Linked DNA regions of Homo sapiens: region 2 is linked to region 1. The links are contacts of gene promoters, found by promoter capture Hi-C in human tissues and cell types (Jung and others, 2019). All regions are on one chromosome and are shown on one strand. Each heading gives the region's core, a stretch centred on a gene start or on the middle of the fragment in contact. The rest is flanking DNA. Distances are from core to core; before and after follow the strand shown.

Region 1 (3,888 bases), core at 373-2,872:
ACGCCCCGGTGCTCGCCGCATGTTTTCTTTGCACACTGCAGAGCTCAAAGGGGTGCTATGAGAGGCCGGCCCAGTCAGCTCCTGGGGTGCAGCTGAGCTGCCATTTCTTTGTCCTGGGAGGGGTCTTCAGTGCAAACAAACAAACCCTCACATCCTCCTGTCCTGGAGTGGGCCCTCCAGGCGCCCCCACCCCTGAGCTCCCTCTTGCTTGGTCAGTTCTCAGCCCTGCTGGCAGCCCTGGGCTATGAGCTGCAGGGGTACTGTCTGTCCTGGGCCCTAAATCTGTCCCAACTGCCTTGTGAGACACAGGCCTCCCAGGCTCCCCTGCTGAGTCTGGACCAGGGAGAATCTCCCTAGATAGTGGGGTTGGCGTTCACTCCCTGGGGATTCTCCTAAGTCTCTGGTTCCCAAAGTTTTCAGAGTAGACACAAGTGGGCACCCGAGGGGCGCTCTCTGCTGCTTGGGGGCTGTTTCCCTTTCACTGGTTGGGGGCCTCTTAGATGACGCCCTCATCTTGCCCAAGGAGGTCAAGGACTCACCACAGGTACTCATCTCTGGGAAACTGCCTCAGGCCTGGAAAATTCCAGGCATGACACTAATCCCACCCTGGCTGAGTCCTTCTGTCAGGTGGAGGCTAAGCTGGCATTGGAGAAGTTTGAGACACAGCCAAGAGCTCAGGCTCTGGGAGCCTCCCATCCTTTGTTGCGTGACCTTGGGCAGCCCTGTTCTGGGCCAGCGGCCCTTCTGGGGCTTGCTGTCTTGATCTCAACATCGGGTTCCACATTGATGTGGGAAGTGACGCTGTGCAGGTGCTGGGGTCAGCCTATGGGGCCCTCCTTTGTCCCAGAGAGCCCAGGACCAGGAGGAAGCCAGGACTAGGTAGTAGTTACGGCTTTTTGAAACAGGGTCTTGCTCTGTCGCCCTGGCTAGAGTGCAGTGGAGAGATCGTGGCTTACTGTAGCCTCGACCTCCTGGGCTCAAGTGGTCCTCCTGCCTCAGCCTCCCAAGTAGCTGGGACTACAGGGGCACCACCACACTCAGGGCAAGGACACAGCCTTTCCTCTACCTGTGGAGGAGCTGTGTGGTTTCCAGGAAACCAGGCCTTTTCCAGCCTCACCTGTGGGGTGTTGTAACACCCAGGAACTTGGAGAGGCGCCCAGAACCTGGGCAGGGTCAGCACACAAGCACCCATTCTGCGTAAGACCCAGGCCTGAGGACAGCCCTGTAGACCACAGAACCCCACGGGTCCCGTCCCCAACAACTGGCTCCTTCCCACCCTAGGGCCTTCGCACTTGCCTGGAATACTACAGATTCCCCCAGGCTGGCCTCACTCGAGTTTTACAAACTGCACGTGGGTTCCCGGGACTGGGCTATATTTGATTTCTATCCCCCACTAGTTCTGAGAGGGCAGGGGCTGTGTGTGTCACCCAGTGTATCCAGGAGGGGCTCAACTTTCCATGGTATCCTTTTTGTTTCGTGAAAGCTCTTTACATATGCGGGGCAAAAGCTTGAGAAGAGTCATACATTTTCCCAGGATATCTTTCTTTTTTTGAGACGGAGTCGCGCTTGGTTGCCCATGCTGGAGTGCAGTGGCACAGTCTCAGCTCACTGCAACCTCTGCCTCCCAGGTTCAAGGGATTCTCCTGCCTCAGCCTCCAGAGTAGCTAGAATTACAGGTGCCTGCCACCACGCCTGGCAAATTTTTTGTATTTTTAGTACAGACGGGGTTTCACCATGTGGGCCGGGCTAGTCTGGAACTCGACCTCATGCCACCTGCTTTGGCCTCCCAAAGTGCTGGGATTACAGGTGTGAGCCACCCCGCCTAGCCCAGGATATCTTTTGATGTTCCTTAGAGTATATTGGATGGGGGGTGCTAGCTGGAAATCTTAAAATTTTGCCTGAATTTCATTCATCTTGTGGTTTCTAGTACAAACTCTCCTTTCTCCATAAGGGAATCTTCATACTTAAGTGCCACCCAGAAAAGAAAATACATTTCCTAACCTCCATAGCTATGGCCAGGTGTGGCTCATGGCTGTCATCTCAGCACTTTGGGAGGCTGAGGTAGGAGGATCACTTGAGGCCAGGAGTTTGAGACCAGACTGGTAGACATAGTGAGACCCTGTCTTTACCAAGTAACATTAGCTGGGTGTTGCGGTGCACACCTGTAGTCCCAGCTACACGGGGGCCTGAGGTGTGAGAATCACTTGAGCCTGGAGGTTGAGGCTGCAGTGAACCATGATCATGCCACTGTACTCCAGCCTGGAAACAAGACGAGACCAAACAAAACAAAAATACAGTACTGATGTGCCATTTCTGAGAAAGAACGCCTCTGGCTGGTGTGGACATGATGGCCAGTGCTGCAGCAGTCATTTTGGACTATGAAGAAGCAACACACAGGAGCAGTGAGGGAGAAGGATCTCCGGTACTTGACCCTGTGCAGTGCTGCCCCCGTCCCTGAGGCTTGACCCTTCTACCCCCTTGATTAGAACACGGGGAGGAGACATGAGTCCTGCTTAGGCTGTAATGGAGCTGCTCTGTTAGATGTGACCTTACCTTACCTTGAGCTGGGCCTGAAGCAGGGCGTGGCACTGTGGACTCAGGCCGTAACTGCCTGGAAGTCCCTGCCCTCTCTGAGCCATTTCTTCCTGTATAAAGTGAGGGCGGTGATCCCTCCAGGCTGCAGGGCAGGCGAGGTGATATTAGGTGAGTTGGAGGATGAGAGATCAGGAGAGTGGAAGGCTCACGGCCCCACCAAAGCCCACTGCATACCCTCATCTCCACCTCAGTCCCCTCCCTGTGCCTTGGAGCCCCTCCAGGGCTTCAACCACGTGGCAGCAGCCTGGGAACCACTTGGGAGAGCTCTGCCCCAACCAGCTGAGACATGGAGGCCAATCCCATTATTGAGGGGCCATTGACAGGATGAATGTGCTCCCAGATCACTAGCCTGCACCTATTCACCTACCTTGGCACACTCAGCCTCTCATAAATGTGCCCAGAAGCCCCTCTACCACCGAATTCCCCCACCCCCTGCCAAACCCCATCCTTCCATTCAGTCAGATTCCTCCACCATCCAACCAGCTACCTGTCCATCCATTCGTCCACTCAATCCACCCACCCCATCCATTCATCCTTCCACTCATCCACCTACCCATCCATCCATCCACCCAACCATCCAGCCATCCATCCAGCTATCCACCCACCCACCCATCCATCAACTCACCCATCCATCCATCCACCCATCTATCCATCCATCCATCTACCCACCCACCCATCCACCCACCTGCCCATCAACCCACCCACCCATCTATCCATCCATCCATCCATTCACCCATTCAACCACCCACCAGTCGATACATACATCCATTTATCCATCCATCCATCTATCCACCCACCCATCCATCCATTTACACATCCTCCCATCTGTCATGTCAAATCCTCTACCCAAACTCCACGCGCCCACCCCCACCCCACACACACCATCCCTTTGTTGCAGCCTCAATTGTCCTTGAGTCCCTACTTTGTGCAGGGGCCTGCGTTAATTCCGGTGTGGGTGATTGAAGGAATAGACAGACCCTGGTTCTTTCTCAGGAGGGAGAGGAACAGTCACAACCCCATGCAGAGGCTGGGCGTGGTGGTGGTGTGCCCATAGTCCCAGCTACTTGGGAGTCTGAGGCAGGAGGATCACTTGAGCCCAGAAGGTTGAAGTTGCAGTGAGCCGTAACCTCTCCACTGCACTCCAGCCTGGGCAACAGAGCGAGCCCCTGTCTCAGAAAAACAAATAGAAAAAATAAGCAAACAAAAAGAACTGCCCCTGGCTGTTGAGAGAAGGTACAAGACCAACCAGAGCAAAAGCCCTGGGTCTGGGCAGAAATGGATCCTTTCACGTGG
Region 2 (3,922 bases), core at 279-2,778, 420 kb after region 1:
GAGGCTGCGCCCCCTCGGAGCCCCCTTCCGCGGCGCGGTGTACAAAGGGGCAGCCGAGACGCGCGGGTTTGTGCAACACGGGGCGGCCGCGCGGGGGAAAGAGGCAGCGCGAGGGCGGGGGGGTCATGCGCTCGCCCCCCCGGGAGCAGGGGGTCCAGCTTGTCGAGTCCTGGGCACCCTCGGGGGGGGGGAATCCCCGGGGGCCGCGCCCTCTCTGAGTTCCTGGGCACACTCGGGGAGGGGGGGTCCCCAGGGCCGCACCCTCTCCAAGTCCGGGGCGCCCACGACACCCCCCCGCGAGCCCGCCCCTTGGGGAGGGTGGCCGCGCATGCGCCCCGCGCGCGGACTCAGTACGCGGGCACCTGGTGCTGGGGCAGCAGCTGGCAGCCGCTGTTGACGTGGCTGAGGACTTTCTGCTTGAGCTGCGCCACCTGCTCGCGCAGCAGGCTCGCCGTGGACGCCAGCTCCGTGTTCTGACTCTTGAGGGTCTTCACTTTCTCTTCCAGGCGCGAGATGCGCTCCAGCTTGCGCTTGCGGCACTTGGAGGCGGCGATGCGGTTGCGCAGCCGCTTGCGCTCCGCCTTGATGCGCTCCTGCGTGTCCATGTCGATGGGCGACAACGGCGGGCTCTCGCCGAAGCTCGGCACGTCGGGCACCGTCTGTGGCTCGTCCTTGAGCGCAGCCAGGCGCGGCGGCCCCAACGCGCCTGGGGGTGGCGGCGGCGGGAAGGGCACAGGTTCGGCAGCGAAGGCGACCGTCGCGGCGCCCCCCGCGCCCCCGGCGCCGCCCGCGTAGCTGCTCAGGTTCGCGTAGACAGGCGCTTCGGGCGCGGCCGCCGCCGGGGCCAGCTCGCCGGGGGGCGCGGAGCCCGTGGCCGTGCCCGAGGGCCCCCCGGCGGCGGCGGCGGCGGCGGCAGCGGCCGCGCCCGCGCCGAGCTGGTTCTGCTTGTGTAAATCCTCCAGGGCCTTGACGAAGCCCTCGGCGAACTCCTGCTCCTCGCTGGCCGCCACCTTGGGGTAGAGGAACTGTGAGCTCGTCGGCGTGGTGGTGACCAGCCCGTTGGACTGGATGATGAGGCGCTCGAGCTCGGGGGAGGCCAGCTTCAGCAGCCCCAGGTCGGGAGAGGCGAGCAGGCCGTCGGGGGGTGCCGCGCTGGGGGCGCCGTCGGCGCGCAGGGGGGTAGGAGGCGGCGCGGCCGCAGGCTTGAGCGCTGCCGCCACCTGCTCACTCAGGCTCAGCGTCAGCGCGTCCTTCTTCATCATGCTGCCGGCCGCGGCCGTCGGGGGCGCCCCGGGGAACAAGCGGCCCGGGGACGCGAAGCTGCCGCCGCTGCCACTGGCGCCGCCGCCCAGGCCGCTCAGCGCCTCATCGCCGTAGAAGGGTGTTTCCATCCTCCGCCTCCCCCGCCGCGCCGGCCCGGGGGGGAGTGGCCGCGGCCTCCCGGGGGGCCCGCGCCCCCCCGTCCGCTCGGCCCTGCGCCCGCCCCGGCCGCGGCCGCAGCGCCCGGCCCTCCACTGGCGGCGGCTCCTGCGCCGCGCCACTTGTGCGCCCTCTTATAGCCTCGGCTCGGCGCGATGAGCTCACCGCCCCCGTTCGCCATTGGGTGCGGGTGACGTCGCTCATTTGCATGGAGGGGCGGGGCCAAGCCGCCGACGCCCGCCCGGCCGCCGTTGCCCCGGCGACGCGCGGTAAACGCCACAACAGCGCGCTGCCTTGTGGGTTGACGTCATGGGGGCGGCCGCGCGCCCGGGCCGGGTCACCCCGCCCCGGGACCGCTGTGTACGACCGATCTCCCCGGCGCCGCCTCCGCCAAGGCACGTCCCGGGTGGCGTGATGGGCCCGGGCCACCAGGCGCCCGCCCGCCCCGAGGCCCCGCCCCGTGTCCGCGCGTGGGGCCCCGGCCGGGCGGGGGCGGGGGCGGGGGCGGTGCCGGCCTCCGGGGACTGGAGGGGGATGGGGTCCCGCATGGCTAAATAACTCCTTGGCGCCTCCTGCTCTGCTGTGCCGCCAGGGCCTCCCCTAGCGCGCCTTCTGGAGAGGCTTTGTGCGGATACGGGGCTGGAGGCCTGGTGGGGCTGTGTCCGGGGGCTCGCCGGGGGTGTGGGGAGGTCTGCGTTCCTCACCCTCCCTCCTTCCTTCCCTCCCTCCCTCCACCCCGCGTGTGATTGCTCAGGAAGAGACGGGAGGGGAGAGGAGGGTCGCCAGAAGTTGCTGAAAGCGCTTGGATCCTGATCATTTTCACTGAGTGCGTTCTAGAACCAGGAGTCCTACTTCCTGCCTTTACAGATGGGAAACTGGGCTCAGAGAGGTGGAGTGACCATCCCCCGAGAGTTAGCTAGGAGTCACAGCAGGGCCCGGGCTGTGACTAGGCCTGAGCTCTTGTCCACCCTTAGAACCCTAGAACCTGGGAGTCCAGGCCCCTGCGCAGCCCCTTCCTTCCGCCGCCCACGTTTTAACCCCAGGTCTGCCAGGGCTGTGATGTCCTGGGCGAGGGTGCCCAACTCCAGGGGCTGGGCTGATGAGGCAGGAATGCCGGGTATAATTATTACATGCTTGTTACCACTATCATGGCTGTTAGGGCTTAATGAGCCACTATTAAGACTGGCTGGGAAGGGGGTGTGAGGGAGGAGAGATGGACCCACCCCACCAATACTCACAAGGGATCCTTAGGACATCTGGATCTGACCTACAGCCTCTGCATGCACCCCTCCAGCTCCCCACCTCTGTCTGAATGGAGCCCACACCCTCCTTTCCCTGACCTCCTTCCCCTCACTCTCTCTGATCCTTGGCCTCCCAGTTGCAGGACTAATCGTACCTCTGGGCCTTTGCACGTGCTATGCTCTCTGCTTGGTACTCCCTTCCCCCAGTGCAAAGATGTGTCTTCAGGAAGTGCCCCACCCTCAGACTTTACTCCTTTATTGTAGCCTCTGAATCTGCCAGAATGATGGAGTGGACCATAGTCCCTGAAGGTCAGGGACATTGCCTATGCTGAGCCTGCTGACAGGGCCTCGCATAGAATGGATGCTCAGTATTAAAGGTGAATGCGGGGCTGGGTGTGGTGGCTCATGCCTGTAATCCCAGCACTTTGGGAGGCCGAGGCAGGCAGATCACTTGAGGTCAGCAGTTCAAGACCAGACTGGCCGAAATACAAAAATACAAAAAAAAAAAAAAATACGAAAATTAACCGGGTGTGGTGGTGTGCACCTGTAATCCCAGCTACTCAGGAGGCTGAGACATGAGAATCGCTTGAACCCGGGAGGCAGAGGTTGCAGTGAGCTGAGATTGTGCCACTGCACTCCAGCCTGGGAGACAGAGTGAGACTCCAGTCTCAAAAAAAAATAAAAAATAAAGGTGAATGCAACAAAAGGTTGCTTGTGTGGGTGGTCTCTAGCCTCAGTTTGTCTGCCTGGCCAGTGGGCATGCGTTACTCCTTTTCTATCCTCCTTACTCACCTGGCTCTGCCCCCAACTGGGGCATGAAGGCCATAAGGGAGGCTGTCCTCATCACCAAGAGAGGTGGCCTGTCGGCCACACGCGGTGACTCCTGCCTGTAATCCCAGCACTTTGGAAGTCTGAGGCAGGCATTTGAGGTCAGGAGTTTGAGACCAGCCTGACCATCATGGTGAAACCCCATCTCTATTGAAAATAAAAATTAGGCTGGGCGCAGAGGCTCACGCCTGTCATCCCAGCACTTTAGGAGGCCAAGGCAGGCTGATCACGAGGTCAGGAGATCAAGACCATCCTGGTTAACACGGTGAAACCCTGTCTCTACTGAAAAATAAAAAAAAAAATTAGCCGGGCATGGTGGCGGGCGCCTGTAGTCCCCAGCTACTCGGGAGGCTGAGGCAGGAGAATGGCATGAACCCGGGAGGCAGAGCTTGCAGTGAGCCGAGATCACACCACTACACTCCAGCCTGGGCAAC

Evidence for each region. Contacts are between HindIII fragments. The study calls those that stand out against the background at their distance.
Region 2: the fragment with the promoter of JUND here is called in contact with a fragment that was not itself captured in region 1 in 1 of the 25 tissues and cell types used here (dorsolateral prefrontal cortex).

What each region holds. Positions count from the first base shown.
Region 1 is chr19:17,863,306-17,867,193 of GRCh38, forward strand. It overlaps RPL18A (ribosomal protein L18a), which reads left to right. Exons shown (of 5, transcript NM_000980.4): 5 at 1-14. Among named protein-coding and RNA genes, the nearest start is that of SNORA68, 2.7 kb to the left of the region's middle. RefSeq lists an enhancer at 1,571-1,710. The HindIII fragment of the contact is 9,841 bases long and covers 1-3,888 here.
Region 2 is chr19:18,280,094-18,284,015 of GRCh38, forward strand. It overlaps JUND (JunD proto-oncogene, AP-1 transcription factor subunit), which reads right to left and starts at 1,529. Exons shown (of 1, transcript NM_005354.6): 1 at 1-1,529. The coding sequence starts at 1,391. The coding sequence ends at 348. MIR3188 (microRNA 3188) reads left to right here and starts at 1,984; the gene lies at 1,984-2,068. It overlaps LOC124904652 (a long non-coding RNA gene), which reads left to right and starts at 1,999. Exons shown (of 2, transcript XR_007067154.1): 1 at 1,999-3,037. RefSeq lists silencers at 118-427, 1,008-2,007 and an enhancer at 663-1,514. The HindIII fragment of the contact is 27,320 bases long and covers 1-3,922 here.